Linked DNA regions of Homo sapiens: all the other regions are linked to region 3. The links are contacts of gene promoters, found by promoter capture Hi-C in blood cells and fetal thymus (Javierre and others, 2016). All regions are on one chromosome and are shown on one strand. The core of a region is centred on a gene start or on the middle of the fragment in contact, and the rest is flanking DNA. Distances in the headings are between cores, read along the strand shown. Region 1 has its middle 70 kb from the start of MIR3156-1. Region 2 overlaps LOC105378283 (a long non-coding RNA gene). Region 3 holds the start of SYT15 (synaptotagmin 15).

Region 1 (3,555 bases), core at 326-2,825, 1.3 Mb after region 3:
CTCACTGCAACCTCCGCCTCCCAGGTTCAAGCAATTCTCCTGCCTCAGCCTCGTGAGTAGCTGGGATTACAGGGGCCTGCCACCACGCCCGGCTAATTTTTGTACTTTTAGTAGAGACGGGATTTCGCCATGTTGCCCAGGCTGGTCTTGAACTCCTGACCTCAGGTGATCCGCCCACCTTGGCTTCCCAAAGTGCTGGGATTACAGGCGTGAGCCACTGCGCCCGGCCTGGTGTAGGCTTTTAAAGGCAGACACATGCAGAGTACAAAGCACAGCCTTTAACAAATTGAGCAGTTTTCCGACTTGCCTTTCTATTCTCGGAGCATGAGTGCCATCTGGTGGGCATTGCATTAAATTACTATTAATAGTTACCAAAATCAGCTCTGCTTCAGAATCACCTGTGGAGTTACTTACATTAGACTTCCAGTTCCCACTGAAACCTATTGAATCAGGATTTCCCGGGGAGGAGCCACAGCATGCTGTTTTTTAAAAGCTCCCTCTGTGACGTCAGTGCACCGCCTAGGGTTGAATACCCATGTTTATTTCTGCATAAATAAAACTATAGAACATTTGGACACCTGGCTCTATTTTATCTACTTCTTGCTGAAAATTGCAGGAATTCTTTGAAGAAATGGTGACTGATAGTTTGTTTTTGTAAAGCTCATATCAGGGCTTTACAAACAACAACTCAGAATCTGATGTTGATTCAATATTGCAGGCATCTGTGCTTACGGTCCTCTCATTTTATGTGCAAGTAGATACTTAAAGAGAGTATGGGCTCACACCTGTAATCCCAACACTTTGGGAGGCCCAGGCAGTTGGATCACTTGAGGTCAGGAGTTTAAGATCAGCCTGGCCAACATAGGGAAACCCCATCTCTACTAAAAATACAAAAATTAGCCAGCATAGTGGCACACGCCTATAATCCCAGCTACTCAGTAGGCTGAGGCAGGAGAATCGCTTGAGCCCAGAAGGTGGAGGTTGCAGTGACCCGAGATTGCGCCACTGCACTCCAGCCTGGGCGACAGAGCCAGACTCTGTCTCAAAAAACAAGAGAGTAAGTAAGGGAAAAGTGGCTGCTGGCAAGTGGGTATCTGTTTCTAATTTTTCTGCTCTTTAATCACTTAGGCTTTGTAATCAAACTAGACAGAGAATTATATCAGCTGGAAATCTAGATGGTTTTTTAAAATATATTATTTATAAAATTGATAAATGCTATTTTCAGAAGTATCAGAAAATAGACTAATTTTTCTAACACCCTAGCATTCTCATATATTCTTAACACCTTTCTTTGAATATCTTTGCATATATTTTACATGCATATTTTTTACTGTTTGATGTTGTGTTTTTTCCACTTACCAATACATCATTAATATCTTATCTTAATAAAAACACTGGTGCATCGTATTTAGTTTTTGGAGAGTATTCCATTGCATAAGTGCAGCCTAATTTATTTAACGAAGCCCCTCTAAGTGGACATTTAGGTCTCTTGAACTTTTTGCAACTACAGACAACACTTAATAAACTTTTTGTTAGTGATATCTTTATACACGGAGTTACATTACTTGGTGAGAAATGGTGATCGCAGGACCAGCAGATACTGTATTACGGGGTTGCACAGAAGGCCCACAGACAGAGACCCCAGTAAATGTGCCACACATCAGATTTAGAAGCTAACCAGCTCTTAGACATTGAATTGAAATTTACAAACATTTCAAAAGGGAGGAAAAGAGACAATTTTAACAATATCATGACTTTATATTGACAGGTTTTTTTTTTTTTGTGGGCATGGTTTTCAGTGGCTTGCAAACATATAACCCCATTTGATCCCCACAGTGACAATCCCGTAAGGTGGAAAGAACAAGTATATCCTGGACTTTGCAGATAAAAGAAAACTGAGTCACTGAGAGAAGTGATTGCCATTTAATCCAGTGCCGCGTTAAGCTGTAATATATAGCGAGATACATCAATTTTTAAACTGTTGGTGTTTACAGTATTTTCCCAGTTTTACATTTTCTTTTATAAATGTAGATATAATTTCATGTGTAATTGTTTTTTTCCTTAAAGGTACCACTGATTTAACACTTTATAAATGTTAAACATAAATTTAAAAAAGTAAAACATAAGTATAAAATAGTCAATTTACATAGAGAGGTAGCTCTTATTTTGCTAATATTTACATACTTACAACTTTTTGTAAGTATGTAACTTTTTGTAAGTTGTAATATTTTGCTAATATTTACATACATACAACTTTTACATTTTACATACATACATATTTACATGCATATTCACATACAAAAGTCATATACTTTTTTATATATACTCCTTAAGTATACAATTCAACTTTTGTATGTATGTAAATATGCATGTAAATATGTATGTAAAATGTAAACTTACATTTATATACATACAATTTACATACAGAGGTGGCTCCTTATTTTGCTAATATAAATACAAACCATCCCCTGATTTGGGAGATATTTTGTGTTATGGTAAATACCATTGTTCACAGGGAAATCCTCTATCCCTTGCAACTACAGAATATGAACATCAAGCAAATGAAAGAATAATGGGAAAAACAAGGAGAATCAAAGGAGATTCTAAAACTTCTGTTGACTGTCCATACTAGTTTGTCAATATAAAAGAAGTTGTTGAAATTTGGAAGCAGATTAAAGTGGAGGTAAAAAGTAGACATGCATAGGAATAAAAATATTGCATATACCTTGATATATCTCTTACAGAAAAAAATCTATACTCACTTGAATTAGTGAGTATCTTGGAAATAAGTCTGTGTTTTGATGACTTGGGGTGGGGCTGAGGCAGGAAAACCCAGTAATGTGGGCATCATGAGAGCAGGGCTTTTTGCCTGTTTTGCTCATTTTTTAATATCCCTAGTACTAAAAACAATACCTGCAGTGTGGCAGTGACTTGATCAATATTTGCCAAATGAATGAACAGAAAGTGAGAGAAAACGGGGACCCATCTATTCCCCTCAACACACAGACAAACACACACTGTTCCACAGAAGTATATGAAAATAAATCCCAAGAGGAAGCTATAAACATTGAGGATGAAAATAGCATATTTTACTTAGTGTGATCATTTCACTTACATATGTTTCTTTAAGAAAAATTAAATTTGCAGTAAGAACTTGAATAAGAAGTTCAAATTTTTCGATAACAGTTTTATTGAGGTATAATTTACATACCATACATTTCCATACATACAATTTACATACCATGCAATTCACCTCCTTAAAGTATACAATTCAGTGGTCTTTAGTAGATTCACAGAGTTGTGTGGCCATTATCAGCACAGCCAATTTTGGGACACTTTCATTACTCCCCAAAAGAAACCCTGTACCCACTAGCAGTCCTTCCCCATTTTCCCTTAACTCCCCATGCCCAGAAATATTTCTTTGTAAAGCATTTGCATTCATTCTTTGCAAGGTTACTTCAAGAAATATATGCAGGTTCACTGTAAATTCTATAAAATTTCTTTATGTGGTACTTTGTTACTAGGTTAACATTTCTAGAAAAAGTTTCAAATATG
Region 2 (4,106 bases), core at 372-2,871, 1.4 Mb after region 3:
GCTTCAACTATTGAGGAAAACATAAGAAGCAACTTAATCTCCATCTGATCAGTATTAGCAGAACCCTCCCCACTTTCTTCATGGTTTCCTAAAAAACTATTAATCTTAACAGAATGGAATGAACAGATGTGAGATCTTTTTATACCATATATTAATTCATTTTCTTCTGTCTTCAAACTTAGAACATTAGCTTAAAACAGTACCAAGTATGGTGCTGGAAAAGATTGTGTTGGGGAAATATTGGTTCATGTATCAAACAGAATAAACGCGAATTACATTAAATGGTAGTTTTAGTTATAGTACCCATACCTCATAAATATCCTTTTTATTTCATCTATTTCTCTGCATATACATTAATTATTCCTTTGGACTCTGTGTAGCTTATAATTTTAAGGGTGAGGTCAAATGAAAGGCACACATCAGAACGGGCAATTACTTGCAACGGGGGTTTGGCCTCATGGTTTTTCAGGACATAGTGCAGACCAGAGAATGGTAATATGGTTTGCAATCTCAATATTTGAATGGTAGTCTATGTAACTTGGTTTTCTTAACAGCTGTAAGTGAGGCCGGGTGCAGTGGCTCACACCTGCAATCCCAGCCCTTTGGGAGGCCAAGGTGGGTGGATCACCTGAGGTCAGGAGTTTGAGACCACCCTGACCAACATGGTGAAACCCCGTCTCTACTAATAATATGAGAATTAGCTGTGCATGATGGCCCATGCCTGTAATCCGAGCTGCTTGGGAGGCTGAGACAGGAGAATCACTTGAACCCGAGAGATGGAGGCTACAGTGAGCTAAGATCACGCCATTTCACTCCAACCTGGGTGACAAGAGTGAGACTCTGTTTCAAAATAAATGAACAAATAATAAAACAGCTGTAAGTGCTTAAGTCTTTAGGCCGTGTCAAAGATACCTATATGATTTATTATATATTTGTATTCTATAAAGTTGTTCACCCTTTGTTAGGAGGATGAAAATAATAGATAATATGATCGAAATAACATGCCATATATGCATGGGGTGTATTAATACACACACACATTTACTATGTCCCAGGCATTGTGCTAAGCCCTCTGTATGGATTAATCTTTCAAACCTCACAGTTTAATTGTTATTATCTAATAGGTAAGGAAACAGATTTAGAGAGCTTCATTAACTTGCTCAAAGTCACCCAGAAAATAAGTGGTAGAGCCCAGATTTGAACCCACACCAGCAGACTTCAGAAGCAGTGTTCTTAGCTTATCCTGTTTCGCCTTACTCATTTCTGACAGTCATATACACATACCCTGTGGAAGAGAAGAAGATGAACAGCTAATTCAGCGAGCACGCTGAGTGCCTGTGGCCATCTGGTCATGTTCTAGAAGCTATGGTAGCTACCCTGTCTGGGCTAATGATTCTGTATCAATTTAGGAATGCATTCAGGGACGCAACCTACCTATCTTGATACCATTTGAACCAAGGAAACAGGAACCTTCATCTTCTGAAAATACTTACACATAGTTTTTAAAAAATCCTACTCCAAAAAGCTTTACTGAAGTATTCACATAGATAAGTGCATATATGACAGTACAAGTTGACAGATTTTCAAAGCAAGAAACGTTAGTAGGTTGGGAGCTCCTGCTCTTCCCAATCACTCTCCCTTTAAGTCATGAGACTGCCAGCATCGTGAGCTTATACTGGTAGTTCCAATGGAAATACATAACAGACTGCAAAGCTTTTATTTAACTCCTTCTATGCCTCATCTGGGCCTTCTCCCTTCCTCTCAGAACCCTGCCTCTCACAGATTTTGGTGATGATAGAATTAGAACATCTCACAATCACGTGTTTGGTACCCAACACACAATTAACAATACTAATTTTACTAATGTCAGTATTGCTAAAAACAATTGTTTTATGCATATGCTATCTTCATTCTCCCTCTTTGAAAAAAAATAGGCTTTTTTTTTAAGAGCACTTTTTGATTTACAGAGAACTGGAGCAGGAAGTACAGATTCACATCTCTCCTCCATCTCCCCTTCCTAGTTTTCCATATTAACATCTTGCATTGGTGTGTTACATTTGCTATGATTGCTGAACCAATATTGATGCATTATTGTTTTTATTTTTATTTTTGAAACAGCGTCTCGCTCTGTCACCCAGGCTGGAGCGCAATGGTGCGATCTCGGCTCACTACAACTTCTGCCTCCCAGGTTCCAGTGATTCTCCTGCCTCAGCCTCCCAAGTAGCTGGGATTACAGGTATGCGCTATCACGCCCAGCTCATTTTTTTTTTTGATTTTTAGTAGAGACGGGGTTTCACCATGTTGGCCTGGCTGTTGATGCATTATTATTAACTAAAGTTTATAGCTAACATCAAGATTCACTCTATATAGTATAGTTTTATGGGTTTTGACAAATTAACATCATGTATTCACCATTACAGTATCATATGGAACAGTTTCACTGCCCTAAAAATCCTCTCAGCTCTACCTCTTCATCCCCTCTCCCTCATTATCTACCTCCTAAATCTCAGACAACCACTGAAATATTACAGTTTGCCTTTGTCTCTATAATTTTACCCTTTCCAGAATGTCATATAGTTGGAATCATACAGTATAAGGTCTTTACAGATTGGCTACTTTTGCTTAGCAATATGCATTTAAGATTCCTCCATGCCTTTTGTGGTTTGATAACTCATTTCTTTTTAGCAGTGAATAATACTCAGTTGTCTGGATGTACCACACTGTGCTTATCCATTCACCTGTTGGATGACATTTTGGCAGCTTTTAAATTTGGACAATTATGAATAAAGCTGTTGTAAACATTCTTGTGCAGATTTTGGGTGAATACCTAGGAATGTGATTACTGGATCATGTGATAAGACTATGTTTAGCTTTGGAAGAAACTATCAAACTGTCATCTCAAGTGGCTGTACTATTTTGCATTCTACCAATAAAGAATGAGATTTTCTGTTGTTCCACATCCTCACCAGCATTTGGTGGTGGTGGTGTTTTGGATTTTAGCCATTCTAGTGGGTATGCAGTAGTATCTCATTGTTTCCATTTGCAATTCCCTAGTGACTATATGATGCTGAGCATCTTTTCATATGCTTATTTGCCATATGTATATCTTCTCTGGTGAGATGTTCATTCAGATCTTTTATGTACTTTTTAATTGGGTTCTTTGTTGTTGAGTTTTAAGTCGTCTTTACATATTTTGGATACCAGTTCTTTATCAGGTATGTGTGTTGCGAATATTTTCTCCTTGTTTGAGTTGGTCTTTCTTTTCCCTAATGATATCTTTCACAGAGCAGAAATTTTTAAATATAATGAAGTCCCACTTATCAAGTTTTTCCTTCATAAGTTGTGCCTTTGGTATTGTATCTAAGAAGTCATTGCCAAATCTCAGGTCAACTAGATTTTCTCCTTTGTTATATCTAGAAATTTTGATAGCTTTGTGTTTTATATAATAGGTCTGTGATTTGAGTTTATTTTTGTGAAAGGTGTTAGGTCTTTGTCTAGATTGATTTTTGTGTGTGTTGATGTCCATCTGTTTCAGCATCATTTGTTGAAAAGACTCCTTTTCCCACTGAATTGCCTTTGCACTTCTGCTAAAGATTAGTTGATTGTATTAGTGTGGTCTATTTCTGGGCTATTTTATTCCAGTGATCTATTTGTCTATTGTTTCACCAATACCATACTCTAAGTTTTGAAGTTGGGCAGTGTCAATGCTGCAATTGTATTTTCTTCAATATTGCATTGGCTGTTCTGCCTTTCCATGTAAATTTTAGGATCAGTTTGTTGATATCCATAAACTTTCCGGTATTTTGACTGGAATTGATATGTAGATCAACTTGGGAAGAACTGACATTGTAACAATGTTGGGTCTTCCTATTCATGAACATGGGCTATCTCACAGTTTATTTAGGTCTTTGATTTGTTTCATACTAGTTTTGAAACTTTTCTCATATAGATCTTGTACATATTTTGTTAGCTATATATCTTACTATTTCATTTGTTTGGTGTTAATGTAAATGATATGTTTTTAATTTAAAATTCTAATTATATAGAAAAGCAGTTGTCTTTGTATATAACCTTGTATCCTGCAACCTTGCTGTAGTTGTTTATTA
Region 3 (3,956 bases), core at 649-3,148:
CTGGAGGTGTGAGGCAGCAGCTCTGATGCCGGGCAGGGGTCCCATGGGGCATCGGCCCACTCTCCACTGTGCAGGGGCACCCAATCTCGGCCTTGAAGGGTTGGGGGCACCACGAATGGCACAGCTGGTGGCCTGTCCAGAGTCAGGGAGACAACATGTAGGTGGCAAGTCAATGGTGTGGTCTCAGAGCGCTCAGCCAGGACGGTTGAGCACCAGGGGCTGGAGGAAGAAAAGCCATCGGGAGCCAGGAGGAGGCCAGGGCACCATTTTCTGGGCCCATACCAGGCAACACACACACACACACACGCACACACACACACACACACACACACACACACACACACAGCAGTGGGATTTGAAGAAGGAACACAGCACCTGACAGTGTCAGCCAGTCTGGGTTTGGATTCCTGTTCTGCCACTTACTAATTGTGTTCTCTGGACCTGTTGCTTATGTGCACTGAGCCTCAGATTCCTCACCTGGAACATGGGTTTCATAACACCTGCCTAATAGCTGATGTGAGGTTTCTGGGGTTTCTTTGTGATAGCTCCCAGCACCGAAGCAGCATAGAAGAGGCACCCCCATAAACAGAACTTTCCTTTTCGACCCCACCCTGAGGGAAATTCCAGGGGCGCACTTGGCCCCACATCCTGCCTCACCTGCTCAGTTGGGTCCTAGCATGCGGCTGGCAGGGCCTGTCCCGCTGCCCACTGGAGGCAGCTGTGGTGGCCATGGCTGGTGTCCCAGGCAGCTCCTCATAGGTGAGGGTGGCACAGAACCTTCTCCACAGACAGCAGCTTGCCCCGATCAACAGCAGCAGCAGCAGCCCCCCGATGGTGCCCCCAATCACCAGGGCCAGCTGCTCTGGGGGCAGAGACCACCAGTACTATGATGCCTGCCTGGGAAAGCCACTCTCCCTCACAGCCCTGGCCTGCTGGGGCAGAACTAGGGCAGCAACCCTGCCTCTGGGTTTGATCTCAGGAGTGATAGGAGCAGGCCTGCTGGGGATGGGTTCCGGGAGGGATGCTGCTGGCTAGGTTCCGCCAGCTCTCAGAGGAGAAGCCGTTTACCCCAGGGTCTGAGAGCCCTGGGCAGAACCTTCTAGTTTTCCTTGGAAAACAGCTGGCCCTGCCCTTGGGATTCTGGCTTAAAGAAGCCATTTCCTTGCGCTTCTGAGTAGAAATCAAACCTGCCCTCACCAGAACCTCCATATCCCCTGGGCTCCTGTTGAGGCCAGGAGGGGAGCTGGGGTGTGGACGCAGTCAGTTAAGGAAAGCCCTGAAAGGTACCTTCCCCCTGGTCTGCAATCAAACCTCTACCCTCTGGGGCCCTGGAACCTGCTGCAAGGCTGGACTCTTCTCTAACACCCGCTCCCTCCCCTAGCCCTCTATCAAGGTGAGCACGCGCTTAGGGGAGTTGGTGCGACGCGGTGGACGAGGTGGGGAGGAAAAGGGGGCAAGACCCCGTTGCTGCTGGCCCTCACACGTCCGCATTTGCGGGACCTAGGAGGCTTCGCCCCGGGGGTGCTCAGACGCTGGGTTCCAACCGCTGGCCACCTGGGGCGGGCCAAAAAGGTGCCTCCCTTAGGGTGACGTGCGGCCGCGGGGCATTCAGGTCTCAGGGATCTGCACTGGGTGGGGTGGTGAGAAGGCCGGACCCCCCACACCTCCTAAGCCGCAACTGACCGCGAAGAGCGGGCCTCAGCGTCTACTCCATCCCAGTGCCCCTCCAAGAGCGCGCCGAGGCCGGGCAGGGCAGGCGCTGCACCCCAGCGGGGGCGGCGGGGCGGAGGCAAGTGCTGGAAGGGTCGCAGAGGGGCCGGGGCTGGGCTGGGGAGGCGAGGCTCGCTTACCCGCCATGGGGCTGCTCCCGCAGGCTGGTCTCGCCGGTCTGGGCGGCTGGGGCTGGGCTGCCAGGCCGTCTCTTAAAGCGCCGCGGGGCGCCGTCGGGCGAGCACAGGGGCGGTCCGTGGTGCTGCTGGTGCCCAGCTGCGGCGCGGGGAGCCGCGCAGTGCACGGCAGGGGCAGGGACCCAGCGCCCCGAGGCCGCAGTCCCGCCCCAGCCCGTCCCTGGCCCAGGCCCAGGCCCGGCGGTGGAGGGGCGCAGAGCCGACCGTGAGCTCCCGGAAACCGCAGGGCTCCAGCCAGGGCGGGTCCCGGGCGCCAGGGGCGCCAGGGGCTCCCTGCGGCTTGGGGCAGGGTGGGGTGAGAGTACCACCCCCATCCCGGAGAGCAGGGCTACAGCCTTCACCGCCGCGTCTGACACAGGGCTCCGCACCCGACCCCTCACACCTGGTGGCCAGGACTGAGCCCCCGCCCTCCCAGATCCTCCTCAAGCCGAGGCCCCTCCAGCCGCAGCTCCGACCCCGGCTCGGGGGAGCCTTCCCGGATCCCGGGGTGGAGTCTCCGCGCGGGTCCCCGGCCCCAGCGCTGCCTGCCTGATGGCCTTGGGCAGGGATGCGGCGCTCGCGCACCCGTTCGCTCTCAGCGGACAAACCGGTCGAGAGCGCAATTCTGGAGCGGGTTCCAGAAGCTCCTGGGTTCCAATTCAGGCTCCTCACTCGCCAGCCCTGCGATTTGGGACAACTTAACGTTCGTAAGCTGGGTTCAGTCTTCTCAATTGGGTTAATGTCCGTGAGGGGCTCTCGTAAGGGCGGCTGGCCTGCCGGTAACTTAAGAAGCATGTAAAGAGCACTTAGAGCGGAGGAGCGGCGCGGCCCAGCCCCTGTTACGGTGGTTATCGGATGGAGGCCAGCGTCGCCTGGGTCCCCTCTGTACACCCAGCGCCTATTATTATGGTGATTATTAGAACGCAGGGCCCGTGCCCACTAGTCCAGGCTGGCGAACGCGCCTTGCGGGAAAGGCGGGAGTAAGGTCGCTGCGTGTCCTCTCTGGTCACACCTCGGCGCGCCCTGGTCGCGCCCCTATGGTTCCCCCGCCGAGGCCTCGAGGCGTCTGAGTGGGGAGCGAAAGGAATGTGTGTATCTGTGGTGCAGGGGAGTGTGTGTGTGTGGGGGGGGGGAGGGGGTGGTTGTGGGGGAGTGCGTGTTTTGGGGGGATGGACCTTCTCGTTTTACAGCCTTGAAGGTTATGTCCAGAGTCATAGCCTGGGTCCCACACCCCCGCGTCACCTGTGCCTGTCCTAGGGGGCAGTCAGTGTGCGTGAGGCTCCACCCTGCCTGGGCTTTGGCTCACCTAAGGCGAGGAGGGTGGTGAACTGGGGTGCCCCACTGGGCCGGGTCTGGGAGCCCTCAGCGCCAGGGTGCAGAGGCCGCAGCCACTCCCCTTCTAGGGTCTGGGCGGTGGGGGCATGAGAAGGCGGAGACCCAGGCCACTTCACCCAGTAACTGTCCTCAGCTGTGCGCTTAACTGGCGAGATCTCCGCTCTACTTGGAGACAGTCTGGGGTGTCTGGAGAATCCTCCCCCACTTCTGCTTACCCCAGGTCGCTGTGGGAGCAGGTGTCTCAGGAAATGGGGCCTGGGTCCCACCCAAGGCCTCGGGTCTGAGTTAGATGTCTGTATGTTTGTTGTTGCCCCTGCAACAAAGTACCACAGATTGAGTAGTTTAAGCCACATGCATGTTATCTCACAGTTCGGGGGGTCGGGAATCTAAACTGGGTTGGCAGGGCCTGTGCCTTCTGGAGGCAAGGGAGCTGTTTCCCAGCGTTTCCAGCTCCTAGAGGCTGCTAGCTAGTGGCCCTTTCCTTTGTCTTCAAAGCCGGCAGCACAGCCTTTTCTAACCTCTCCCACTCCAGGTCATTTCACATCAACTCTTTCTGCCTCCCTCTTGTAAGTGTGATACCCTACCTTGTTTTAACCTGAATTGACTGTCCCTTAGCTGAGAGAGCCAGACACACTCCATTTTGGCTCCTTCACTTGCAGCCCCTTACCCACCCCCCTTCCTCAAGGACTTAACTTGTGCAAGCTGACTCCCAGCACATCAAAGAATGCAATTAAT

What was found. Contacts are between HindIII fragments. The CHiCAGO score rates a contact against its expected background, and 5 or more counts as called.
Region 1: a fragment that was not itself captured here is called in contact with the fragment with the promoter of SYT15 in region 3 in 2 of 17 cell types (total B cells and naive B cells); the score reaches 9.8 in total B cells.
Region 2: a fragment that was not itself captured here is called in contact with the fragment with the promoter of SYT15 in region 3 in 5 of 17 cell types (total B cells, non-activated CD4 T cells, naive CD8 T cells and 2 more); the score reaches 9.5 in total B cells.

Annotation. Positions count from the first base shown.
Region 1 is chr10:45,232,163-45,235,717 of GRCh38, reverse strand. It overlaps the pseudogene CUBNP2. Among named protein-coding and RNA genes, the nearest start is that of MIR3156-1, 70 kb to the right of the region's middle. The HindIII fragment of the contact is 8,662 bases long and covers 1-3,555 here.
Region 2 is chr10:45,213,787-45,217,892 of GRCh38, reverse strand. LOC105378283 (a long non-coding RNA gene) reads left to right here. Exons shown (of 6, transcript XR_001747443.2): 3 at 2,119-2,236. Among named protein-coding and RNA genes, the nearest start is that of MIR3156-1, 52 kb to the right of the region's middle. The HindIII fragment of the contact is 188 bases long and covers 1,528-1,715 here.
Region 3 is chr10:46,577,070-46,581,025 of GRCh38, reverse strand. It overlaps SYT15 (synaptotagmin 15), which reads right to left and starts at 1,898. Exons shown (of 8, transcript NM_031912.5): 1 at 1,851-1,898; 2 at 658-862; 3 at 1-132. The coding sequence starts at 1,857. RefSeq lists enhancers at 276-1,155, 1,156-2,033. The HindIII fragment of the contact is 10,756 bases long and covers 1-3,956 here.